Linked DNA regions of Homo sapiens: regions 1 and 3 are each linked to region 2. The links are contacts of gene promoters, found by promoter capture Hi-C in blood cells and fetal thymus (Javierre and others, 2016). All regions are on one chromosome and are shown on one strand. The core of a region is centred on a gene start or on the middle of the fragment in contact, and the rest is flanking DNA. Distances in the headings are between cores, read along the strand shown. Region 1 overlaps PALS2 (protein associated with LIN7 2, MAGUK p55 family member). Region 2 holds the start of CCDC126 (coiled-coil domain containing 126). Region 3 overlaps PALS2 (protein associated with LIN7 2, MAGUK p55 family member).

Evidence for each region. Contacts are between HindIII fragments. The CHiCAGO score rates a contact against its expected background, and 5 or more counts as called.
Region 1: a fragment that was not itself captured here is called in contact with the fragment with the promoter of CCDC126 in region 2 in 1 of 17 cell types (erythroblasts); the score reaches 5.4 in erythroblasts.
Region 3: a fragment that was not itself captured here is called in contact with the fragment with the promoter of CCDC126 in region 2 in 1 of 17 cell types (monocytes); the score reaches 5.2 in monocytes.

Annotation. Positions count from the first base shown.
Region 1 is chr7:24,621,425-24,625,429 of GRCh38, forward strand. It overlaps PALS2 (protein associated with LIN7 2, MAGUK p55 family member), which reads left to right. Exons shown (of 12, transcript NM_001303037.2): 2 at 2,242-2,360. The coding sequence starts at 2,244. Among named protein-coding and RNA genes, the nearest start is that of PALS2, 50 kb to the left of the region's middle. The HindIII fragment of the contact is 2,918 bases long and covers 1-2,898 here.
Region 2 is chr7:23,595,917-23,600,175 of GRCh38, forward strand. CCDC126 (coiled-coil domain containing 126) reads left to right here and starts at 1,466. Exons shown (of 4, transcript NM_138771.4): 1 at 1,466-1,689; 2 at 2,051-2,135. It overlaps LOC105375187 (a long non-coding RNA gene), which reads right to left and starts at 1,409. Exons shown (of 2, transcript XR_927098.2): 1 at 1,201-1,409. RefSeq lists a silencer at 1,708-1,947. The HindIII fragment of the contact is 1,118 bases long and covers 1,154-2,271 here.
Region 3 is chr7:24,668,458-24,672,764 of GRCh38, forward strand. PALS2 (protein associated with LIN7 2, MAGUK p55 family member) reads left to right here. Exons shown (of 12, transcript NM_001303037.2): 9 at 42-203. Among named protein-coding and RNA genes, the nearest start is that of GSDME, 87 kb to the right of the region's middle. The HindIII fragment of the contact is 3,027 bases long and covers 569-3,595 here.

The DNA.
Region 1 (4,005 bases), core at 190-2,689, 1.0 Mb after region 2:
AAAAACTTAAGAGTTCCATATGAAAAACACTATTGATTTTGTTTTTAAAAATTGAGAGTCTGAAGATAGGGAAAGTAAAAGCTGAAACCTCTAGTATTCTAACAGAAAATAGATAATGTCCAAAATGGGTCAGTCACAAAGTAGCAATATTAGCATATTATCCAGAAAGAAGAGAAACTACGAACAGATCTGATTAGAAGAAACAATTAAATTCCTAGTAATTACTTCTGGGAGTAGGATAAGTTGGGAGAAGGGTAAGCAGCATGGAACAGAAAACTGTATTTTATAAGCCATTTAGTACTACAATCTGACTTTTAACAGTGTTTATATTTTACTTTAATAAAAATAAAAGTTAATATTAAAAACGACTTCTGTATTTACTGTTGATTTATTCTATGAGCTAAGAGATAAAACTAATAAAATTAAGATTATAATATTGAGTGAGGGGAGGGGTCTAGCGTCACTCTCTAACATGTACATATGTTGTCCCAGCACCAGCTGTTGAAAAAACTATTTTTTTCTTTATTGAATTGTCTTGGCACATTGTCAGAATCAATTGACCATAAATGTATGGATTTGTTTCTAGCCTGTTGTTTAGTTGTATGTATGTATATATGCTAGTTCCACACAGTCTTGATTACTGTAGCTTTTTAGTAAGTTTTGAAATTGAGAAGTGTGAGGTCTCCAACTTTGTTGTTCTTTTTGAAGACTCTTTTGGCTATTCTGGTTTTTTTGAGTTTCCATATGAATGGAATGAGCTTGTCAATTTCTACAAAAAAAGAAAAGGCAGTTCAGATTTTGATAGGGAGTGTATTAAACCTGTAGGTTAATTTGGGAATTGTTGCCATTTTAATAATAAGTCCTCTGATCCATGAACATGGGATGTCATTCCCTTTATTTAGATCTTCTTTCATTCTTTCAATGATGTTTTATAGTTTCATTGTACAAATTTTGTACTACTTCTGTTACATCTATTTCTCAGTATTTTATTGTCTTTGATGCTACTGTAAAAGGAATGGTTTTCTTAATTTCATTTTTGGATTGTTTGTCACCAGTGTATAGAAATACACTATGTGTAACAACATATTGGTTGTTTTGTATTAATCTTGTATACTGAAACCTTGGTGAACTCACATATTAATGATAATAAATTTTTGTATATTAGGATTTTCCATATACAGAATCATATGATCTGCAAATATAAATTGTTTTACTTATTGCTTTCTAGTCTGGATGCCTTTTCTTTATTTTCTTTTTTCTTTTTTTTTTTTTTGCTTAACAGCCCTGTCTAGAACCTCTAATCCAAAGTTGAATAAAAATGCCAAAAGTGTACAGCCTTATTTTTTTCCTTATTAGGAGTAAAAGCACCATTAAGTATGATATTAGCTGTGGGTTTTTCATAGAAGCCTTTTATCAGAGAGAAGAATTTCCCTTCTATTTTTAGTTTGGTGAATGTTTTTATTATGAAAGAGTTTTGGGTTTTGTCTAATGATTTTCTTTGTCTGAAGTGTCATTTGGTTTTGTTCTTGGTTTTATTAATAGAGTCTGTTGAGTTTTTATCTGTTGAACCACTCGTTCATTCCTGGGATAAAGTGAACTTGGCCATTATGTACAATTGTTTGTATATGTCACTGGATTCAGTATTTTGTTTAAGATTTTTGCATTTGTATTTCTAGGAGAGATTGGTGGTAATTTTTTTGTGTGTGATGTTGTTGGGTTTAGTATCAGGGTAATTGGTCTCATAGAATGAGTTGGAAGGTGTTTCCTTCTCTTCCGTTTTTTTTTTTTTTTTGAAGGAGTTTGTGAAGTATTGGTTTTAATTCTTTTTTAACTGTTTGATAGAATTCAGCAGTGAAGGCTGGTTCTGAGCTTGTGGGAAGTTTCTGATTCCTAAATTAGACTTTTTCCTTCTTATAAGTCTGTTTGAATTTTCTGTTTTTTCTTGAGTAATGTTTTTAAATTTGAAAAATACAGAGCAAGTGCAAGGTTGTAAGTATGTGTAAGGTAGTCTGATAAAGTCCAAATTACATATAAAAATCTATCCTGCTATTAATTCCTGGGAAGTCAATTTGAAACTCATACTGTTTAACAATTTCATTTTTTAAAATGTTATTTTTCCAAAGAGTATTCTTAATGTCTAGTTGCATTATTAAAATAATCTTACTCCATAACGGCTTGAAATTTAAGGGTTTTTGTTTGTTTGTTTGTTTGTTTGTTTTTATGTTGCTTTTATCTCAGCAGCAATGCAGCAAGTCTTGGAAAACCTTACGGAGCTGCCCTCGTCTACTGGAGCAGAAGAAATAGACCTAATTTTCCTCAAGGGAATTATGGAGAATCCTATTGTAAAATCACTTGCTAAGGTATATAGATTTATTCATAAGATTACTGAATTATTTTGGACTTAGTTTTTATAGAGATATTTTCAGATATTACTATTTTAGAATTTGGTTGATATACATTAGGTTTAGTTAGCAAATAAAAACATTCAGCACATAATGAAATCTTAACATATGCAAAAATTAGACCATTTTTCTCTTTTCTACTCTGACTTTAAATACAGGATGAAATGACTCTTAGTTTTGGCGTAATGCCTTTAAGGTTTAGAGAAATCATACCTGCACAGTTGTGTTTTAACAGGGCCTGTGAAAAAGATCCTGATCCTATTTCCATTTTCAACAATGGCAAAGTACTGATTTTCTTCTTTTGCATTAGACTGTGTACCTACTTTTCATGTAAGTTCTTGACTTCCTTTATCTAGTGCTTTTTTGAAATTTTGTTATTTGTTGCATAAGCCTGGTATTTTAAGTCTGTTTCCCTAGTCAACTCTGGAGTAATCTCTTTAACTCATTGATAAGTATACTTTACAACCATTTTTATTAAATAATTATTATATGCTAAAGCTTAATGTATTACCTATTTTACAAACCTGCTATACCATTCTTTAGAGTTCCCCCAAATGACTCTTGCTTTCAAGAATCTATGCCACATGCCTTCTTTGATCTTTTCTTCATAGAGCCATCTTGTTCCTTTTGGTTTTTGCTCTATGAGAATGTTGATTTCACTCTCTTCTGTGATTTTTTTCTTAGCCAAAGTCTGTTACTTGTTTTCTTCCAAGACCTCTGAAAAATACCTTTTACAAGGTTTTCTATTAGTGAGAGTGAATTAATGATGCAGATTCTTCTTTTTTTTTTTTTTTTTTTGAGAGGAAGTCTCACTTTGTCTCCCAGGCTGGAGTGCACTGGCACGATCTCAGCTCACTGCAACCTCTGCCTGCTGGGTTCAAGTGATTCTCCTGCCTCAGCCTCCCGAGTAGCTGGGACTACAGGCGTGTGCCACCACCCCTGGCTAATTTTTGTATTTTTAGTAGAGGAGGGGTTTCACCATGTTGGCGCAGGCTGGTCTCGAACTCCTGACCTCACATGATCCACCCACCTTGGCCTCCTGGGATTACAGGCATAAGCCACCAGGCCCGGCCAATGATACAGAGTCTTCATTTTATTTACGTGTTTACTTATGCTAAAATCACATGGTATAAAGGCCCTTAAGTAGAAACGAATCCATTTGCAGATCATCCAACTGGAATTTTTATTTTAGTCATTTTTTACTATAGCCTTTCCAATGTTCATTAGATATTTTTATATTTTAATAATAATGTGCAGGGTATTGTTTCAGATTCAAACTTGTCATAAACATTAATTCCTACTGTTTTAAAGTAATAGCTCCAGGGTCTGTTGAAATTAGTAGGAACTATTTAAATTTCTGTTAAATAGTTTACCTGGGTTCTTATTGTACTTTTAAAATGGTTTTTTACTCTTTTCTTGATGTTTTTCTGTTGATTGTCAGTTATTGTCCATGTAGCTGTTACACTGTTATCTCCATGTTTATTTAATTTATAGCTTTTGATCTATAGATTTTAAAACTATATAATGCACTAACAAATGTTTATAGTTTGCAAAGGTCTTTAAAATACACTGTTTTGTCTTCACAACAACTTTATGAATTTAA
Region 2 (4,259 bases), core at 216-2,715:
CCTCTTGAGTAGCAGGGACTATAGGTGCATGCCACCACAACTGGCTGACTTTGGTATTTTTTTGGGGGGTACAGATGGGGTTTTGCCATGTTGCCCAGGCTGGTCTTGAACTCCAGGCTCAAGCAATCCACTTGCCTCAGCCTCCCGAAGTGCTGAGATCATAGGCATGGGCCACCGTGCCTAGTCTATAATAAAGCTTGTTATCCGGTAGCACAAGTTTTCCTCCTCCCACTCCTTCTCCTCTTCTTTTTTTTTCTTCCTCCTCTTCCTCATGAATGCTTGTCTTTGCTCTTCCATAACATTTTGAATTAGCTTGTCAAGTTTCTCACACATACACAGAAATTTATTGAGATTTTGTTGGGAATTGCACTGGCTCTGTAGGTAGGTTTGGAGAGACTTGGCATTTTTCAGTATTGACTCTTCCAATTTATGAACATGTTACATCTTTATTTAGGTCTTCTTCAGTGTCTTCCAATGTTTTCTTCAGGCAGGTTTTGCATTTCTTTGATCGATTTATTCCTAGGTACTTGATATTTGTTTGGAGCTGTTGGAAATGGTATCTTTAAAAAAATTATCTTTTTTACTAGCATATATAAATAAATATTGATTTTTTAAAATATGATTTTTGTATCTATTAACCTTGTTAAAAACTTTTATTGTTAACAGTTTATCTGCAGATTGTTTTGAAGTGCCACAAACAATTTTTTTTTTTTTTTGAGACGGAGTTCTGCTCTTGTTGCCCAGGCTGGAGTGCAGTGGCGCGATATCAGCTCACTGCAACCTCCGCCTCCTGGGTTCAAGCAATTCTCCCGCCTCAGCTCCCCGAGAGGCTGGAATTACAGGCGTCCGCCACCTCGCCCTGCTAAGTTCGTATCTGTAGTAGAGACGGGGTTTCACCATGTTGGCCAGGCTGGTCTCGAATTCCCGACCTCAGGTGATCCTCCCGTCTTGGCCTCACAAACTGCTGGGATTACAGGCATGAGCCAACGGCGCCCGGCCTCCACGTACATAATTACATAATCTATGAAAAAATAATTTTGTTTCTTCCTATTTAATCTTCAATCCTTTTATTTTTCTTGCCTCACTCCACTGGCTAAGGACCTTTGGCTTCAATAATGGGTAGTCTCATCTGTAGCACACTTAATCATCACTAAGCTTTCCCAGCCTCAGGTCAATAGTATTAGGAGGTTGGTTCCTCACCGGAGGGTCGGGAACAAGACGCCAGAGCCCTTCTTCCAGCGCCTGCAGCGAGTTAAGGCCGAGGGTATGCCTCTGGCGGGCTCATCTTCCAACACAGAAGACCCCGCCGCCCTCTCTGGTTGCCGCGCAGCTGCGTCGTTCTGACCCAGGGTAGGTGCAGGGCGGCTGGAAGCACGTGCCGCCGCTTCCTCATTCTGGGACTACATCCCCCACAATGCCGCGCGCCGCGGGCGGCTGGCCCCCGAGTGCGGGAAGGGCCGGCAGGGAGGCGGAGCGGAAGCCGAGTGCGAGGGACGAGCGGAGTAAAATCTCCACAAGCTGGGAACAAACCTCGTCCCAACTCCCACCCACCGGCGTTTCTCCAGCTCGATCTGGAGGCTGCTTCGCCAGTGTGGGACGCAGCTGACGCCCGCTTATTAGCTCTCGCTGCGTCGCCCCGGCTCAGAAGCTCCGTGGCGGCGGCGACCGTGACGAGAAGCCCACGGCCAGGTAATGAGTAAGGGGCGAGTCCGCCAGCCGGGCCCGCACCTCTCGCGCGCCCCTCAGCCTAGCCGGCCGCTCCTCCCCCGCCGCGCCCCCGTCCCCGGTCCCCGCCCCGCTAGGGCCGCTGCTGCGGAAACCCGGCTTAGGAACGGGCCGGCAGCCTCCGGCCGCGGCCGGGAAGGCTCTTTGTCCCTTCCTTTGGGCCGCGTCTCTGCCCCTCCGCGTCTGACAGCCGCGGCGCCTCGGCTCGGGCGGAGAGCCGAGCGTGGCTGGGGCTGCGCGAGTCGAGCGGGGCGGGCTTGGTCCGGAGCTGCGGGATGTAGATCCCGGGCGGCACCGCACTCACTTCTTTTTCTGTTTTTGACAGCTCAGTTCTCTTCTACTTTGGGAGAGAGAGAAAGTCAGATGCCCCTTTTAAACTCCCTCTTCAAAACTCATCTCCTGGGTGACTGGTAAGGATGAACTTAAACTGCCGTGTTGATTGTTGACTGTGACGGTAATGAGAATGGCTCAGCCAGCTAGGGTTCGAATCCTGCCTGGGTTTCTCTCACTGCCTGCCTTGGTGATCTTGGTTACTTAAAGGCTCTAAGCTTGAGTTTTCTCATCCATCAAAACACACACCTGTAAGTGGTTAGAATTAGGAATATAGACCTATAACGTCATTAGTTCTTCATTTGATGAAAAGATCCTTTGTGATACTTTCATTAGCTATGACTGAAGTGACCGAAGTGGCCTCTGGACTTGAGTTTTGTGCTTTTGTTTGTTTAATCATCCTGGGTTGTGTGTTCTTCACTTTATCTTAAACCTAACCAAAGGATTCATTAAAATATGCCGTCTTCCTAATTTTTGCTGTTTTAAGATGGCTGAGAATGTTCTTAGGAAATTGATGACTCTGCTTTTCTGTGGATCAGCTTCAGAGGTACAAGTATTCACCTCTCCCCTCCCCCTCAGGTGTGTCCTTTGGGAATCCTTAGAGGCGCTAAGTGTTTGTTTCGTCAGAGTAGGCATCCAGGTATTTTACAGTCCTGCCTCTGGGCTTCACCATATTTAACCTGGGTCAACTTTTTTCTACATCTGTCTGCATCTTCTCACTGATTAATAATTTCTCACTCTAAAATGTGTTGCAAAAATACTTGTTTTGAGGAAAATGTTTCTATGTTGGTGTTATTTAGTGCAGTGTAGGACAGAGAGTAATGGCTACGGAAATAGGAGTCCTTAGTTTTGTCCTTGCTCTGTCACTATCTGTGTAACCTGAGATTACTTTGTGGTCCTCAATGTCCTCATCTCTAAAATAGTGAATTGGTCTGATTCCAAGGACTCTTCTAGCTCAGACTTTCAATGATAAAGGTTTTTAGAGGTTTTTTTTTAAATGTGGAAACAAAATTTGTGTAAACCCTTTTAGTCATTTGTGTTCTTAGTGTTTCTTCCTGCTTCAGGTCATATAATTCTTTCAAACTACCTTGAAAGAAGGAATACATTTAAGAGAACAAGAAAGCTGCCAGAAATAAGAATCTCTACCAGCCAGTTATCACTCTCTCATGAGCTGCACAGTTTCTCTGCATTTTTGACATGCTTTGTTCTCTTTCTCCCTACTCTGTATCTTTTGCTCATAGCCCCTATACCTGTTGTGCCTGATTCTTCATAACTTTAGCTTGTCAATCCCCTCATCCAACTTTATTATTTATTTTCATGACTTCTCCTTCAGCTCCTTCTGCCAACTGCCTGGTTTTCCCTGGGGCCTCTTTGTTTGAGGCCAGAGATGCTAGCCTAGTTGGCTTTGGAAGGGGAGGTGGGGACATGTGGCACAAAACATGATTGGCCACGGCTGTGACAGGTGAAGCTCTGTGATTGAAGTATCTAGTGCTGCATAGTGTGTGTCTATGTATATGTATATATATAGGTTTTGTTGTTTTTTTTTTTTGAGACAGAGTCTTACTCTGTCACCCAGGCTGTAGTGCAGTGGTGCTGGCTCACTGCAACTTCTACCTTTTGGGTTCAAGCAATTCTTGTACCTCATGCCTGGCTAATTTTTGTAGTTTTAGTAGAGACAGGGTCTCACCATGTTGGTCAGGCTGGTCTTGAACTTCTGACCTCAAGTGATCTGCCTATGTCAGCTTCCCAAATGGTGGGATTATAGGTGTGAGCCCTGGAGCCCGGCCTGCATAGTTTATTTTATTGCATATTTTAGTTTAGTTAGTTTAGTTTGAGACAGCCTTGCTCTTTCACTCAGCTTGGAGTGCAGTGGTGCGATCTCTGCACACTGCATCCTCTACCTCCCAGGTTCAAGCGATTCTTGTACCTCAGCCATCCAAGTAACTGGGTTTACAGGCATGCACCACCATGCCTGGCTAATTTTTGTATTTTTAGTAGAGATGGGGTTTCACCATGTTGACCAGACTGGTCTTGAATGCCTGACCTCAAGTGATCCGCCCTCTTCAGCCTCCCAAGGTGCTGGGATCACAGGCATGAGCCACCACGCCAGGCCATATTTTAAATTAAACTTTTACTGTAGCATAATGGTTAGTTTTCTTTTTGCCTTAACATTTTCTGTTTTTATCCCTGCCTCACTTTACCAT
Region 3 (4,307 bases), core at 832-3,331, 1.1 Mb after region 2:
ATAAAAGTTGACTTTGTATTCCCATTTCCTTTTTCATTTAGAATTTGATCGTCATGAAATCCAGATATATGAGGAGGTAGCCAAAATGCCTCCCTTCCAGAGAAAAACATTAGTATTGATAGGAGCTCAAGGTGTAGGCCGAAGAAGCTTGAAAAACAGGTTCATAGTATTGAATCCCACTAGATTTGGAACTACGGTGCCATGTAAGTTTTCTGTGTTTTCCTTGCTATGCAATTGGCAGGAAAGAGTATGGGCATATGGAGGAAAGGGGGATTATTATCATTAGTTATTGTTATTCCCAAATAAGTTTTCTTTATGGCAGTGAAAGTGAACAAGTAAAAGACATTGAAAAATTTAGTAATTCTGTAGCTGTCTTGAAATAGTGCTGCAGTGCTGTTGGCTTGCTGTCTGGTGGCAAGTGCTTCTCTAAACTATTCAGTTCAGAAATGTTAGAATTAAATGCCTACATTTAAGACTCGTGGCAAGATAGGCATTTAGGATTTTCTTGTACTGATGTCTATCTAAAAAGTTGGATTTTTCAGCCATTTTAGTGTAAAGAAAAGGGGAAAGCTTCTGACCCTTGGACATACCCAGTGTGGCAACAGCTGTGTGAACTTACGTGGCCTGGCTTGTAGCTCTCAGTCATGCAAGGTCATAAACCTGATTTTTGATAGCACATAAGAGTGATTCATCTTTTACTGCAGGCAGCATTCATTAAGGTTACAGAGTCTGATGTATAGAATAAAATAGTACTGATGAGAAGTATAACCATTAAGTGAACCAAGCACTCATTTTATGGTCTTTGCATTCATTTCTCTATTTGCATATTTACATAGAAAGTTAAATAATCATGTCAGAAGTATGCTTGATGAGAATGGAATTAGATCAAGGAATTGGATGATGTTAGTGATTTACTGTAATGACTAATACACATTTGTCTCTGACTGTAGGGACTAATAAACATTTGTCTTTGTTTTTGAAATACGTGGATCTTTACTTGTGAACTTAGATGTTCTCTCCCTTGAAGAAAGCAGGAGATAAGCTAACATTGCTTTCATTCCCATTGCTGTGCTTCTATTTCTGACCAAGCCCCCTTTTAACATGGCATTCCTTTAGGTATATTAATGCCTTTAAGCTATTTTGAGTCAAATCCTAGGCTAACTTTAACCCTATCTCTTTTAATTGAATTTTAGAGTTTCCCTGGTTTTGTCCAGTATATTTTGGGTTTAATTCTCAGTGAGTACTCTTATTGCTAAAATTCTTAAAAGTTAGGGAAATAGCCTTGTCATTGCCCCCCTGTGCTACTTATAATCCCTTCAGTGTAAATCTTCTGATTCTACTGCAGGCATTGTAAATCACTAAATTTAGACAAATCCTACTAAAGTGGTTAACAGAACAAAAACTTCACTGTAATCAACGTATGTTAAAGCTGCACTTGTGAAGTAAAAAGTTTTTCGCTTTTATCAAATTCATATGTGCCCAATATTTTTAGCAAGTAGTTCTTAAAGACATATAATGGGGAAAAAAATAACCCCTTCTCTTCCCCTGCCTCACTTATGAAAAACAGTCACTTTTCATTGTTTTTGCTATTTCTTTTGGTTGTGTTCCATATTTCTTAATAATGTCTTTAGTCTGCTGTTTCCTGCTTTATGCAGTTTAGGCCTTATCTGTTGACTTCCTGACTGTCCTTCCAATATAAAGATAGCTGTATTTTCAGTTAGTTCAATTTCACTTTCTTGAACAGCCCTTTCCCCTTCTGTGACCCAGGAATCTCTGGAGTTCTGTTTTTCTTTATACTACCTGATTTTATATATATATGTGTATACAGTTTTTTGTTGTTTTTTAAACTAAAGACTTGTTTATCCAGTAAGTCAGGTTCTTTTTTTTTTTCCTGGAGACCTCTGTCTCAGAACCCTCTGTCTTTCTGCTTCAATGAGGACTACATGCTGTCTCTCTGGCTGCCCAGCTGTTAACACTGGAGTAGTTCCCTTTGTTGTTATCCTGGGTTGAAGCTGTTGTTCCTGGATCCCATTCTTTCTCTTTCTTGGTTTATCACCTTGTTTTGCTGGGGTACATCCTCTTGTATGTGGAATGTAATGTCTGCATCTTTGTGTTTTAAAATGTATATTTTCTGCCCTTTATTTGACTAATTAGCAGAGAATAGAATTCTGGATTGTAAAATTCAAAAGCTGTTACAACGTCTTCATCATCGCCAAAAGAATCTCTGTACCCATTTCCCACCAACTTCCTCACCCCCTGCTGCCAGGAGCAATCATGAATCTTTCTGTCAAAATAGATTTGCTTATTTTGGACATTTTATATACTGGAGTTATACAATATGTGGTGTTTTGTGACTGGCTTCTTAACATGTCAGATCTCATCTGCATTGTAGCATTTATCAGTACTTATTTTCTTTTCCTTGCTAAGTGATTATTATATGGCTATACCACATTTTATTTATATATTCATCAGTTGATGGACATTTGGACTGTTTTATTTTTAGCTATTGTGAATAATGCTACACTCAGCATTTGTATACAGGTATTTGTGTGGACATATGCCTGTTTCTCTTGGGTATATACCTTGGAATGGAATTTGTAGGTTATATGATGACTGTATGTTTAGCCTTTAGAAGAACTTCCACACTGTTTTCCACAGCAGCTGTGTATATACCCTTCACAATCCCAGCAGCATATGAAGTTTCCAGTTTCTCTACATCCTCACCAACATTTGTCATCTGGCTTTTTGATTGTAGTCATCCTAGTGGGTGTAAAGTTGTATCTCATTTTGGTTCTCATTTGCATTTCCCTAATGTCTGATCATGTCAAACAACTTTTCATGTACATATTTGCCATTTATATATTTTCTTTGGAGGAATGTCTGTTCAAACTGGTTGCCCATTTTTCAGTTAGGTTATTTGTCCTTTTCTTAAGCTGTAAGAGGAGGTCATATTATATTCTGGGTACAGGTTCCTTGTTAGATATGATTTGCACGTATTAATATTTTCTCTCATTCTTTGTTGACTTCTCGTGTTTTTGATGGTGTCCTTTGATATACAAAAGTTTTTCATTTTGATGAAGTCCAAATTTATATGTCTTTTGTTGCTCATGCTTTTCATATCGTATCAAGTATGGTACCATATCAAGGCTTTCCCTAACCCAAGGCCACAAAATTTTACTCCTGTATTTTATTTTAAGAGTTTATACTACTGACTCTTACATGCAGATTATATGATCAATTTTGTGTTCATTTTTGTGTCAAATGTGAGGAGGGGGTTCCAACTTTATTCTTTTGCTTGCACTTATCCAGTTGTCACAACACAATTTGTCAAAAAGAATAGTTCTTTCCTCCAGTGGATTGTCTTGCCACCCTTTTTGAAAATCAATTGATTGTAAATGTCAAGATTTATTTATAAACCCTCAGTTCTGTTCCATTAACCTAGATGTCTGTCCTTATGCCAGTCCCACATTGTCTCGATTACTGTATATTTGTATTAAGTTTCAAAACCAGGAATTGTGAACCCAACTTGTTCTTTCTTTTTCAGCTTGTTTTGGCTCTTCTGGGTTCCTGACATTTCTATATAAATTATAAGATAAGCTTCCAGTTTCTGCAGAAAAGGTAGCTAGAATTTTAAGAGGGATTATATTGAATTCTAGCTACCTTTTCTGCAGCAATTGGAAGCTTATCTTATAATTTATATAGAAATGCCAGTAACTTGGCCTTGAGGACTACTGCCATCTGTTTTGTTTTGTTTTGTTTTGTTTTGTTTTGTTTTGTTTTGTTTTGTTGAGATGGAGTCTTGCTCTGTTGCCCAGGCTGGAGTGCAATGGCATGATCTCGGCTCACTGCAGCCTCCACCTCCTGGATTCAAGCCATTCTCCTGCCTCAGCCTCCCCAGTAGCTGGGATTACAGGCACCCACCATCCTGCCTGGCTAATTTTTTTTGTATTTTTAGTAGAGACTTGCTTTCACCATGTTGGCCAGGCTGGTTTCGAACTCCTGACCTCAGGTGATCTGCCTGCCTTAGCCTCCCAAAGTGCTGGGATTACAGGTGCTATATTAACAGTATTAATTCTTCCAGTCTATGAGCATAGATGTCTCTCTGTTTATTTAGGTTTTCATTTTAATGCTGTTTATGGTTTTCATTGTACAAATATTATGCTGCTTTTGTCACATTTATTCCTGAGTATTTTTTTCTTTTTTATTCTGTAGCAAAAAGTATTTTCTTAATTTCCTTTTTGGATTGTTCCTTGCTAGTGTACAGAAATAAACTGATTTTTGTGTGTTGGCTTTGTCTTTTAGCCTTA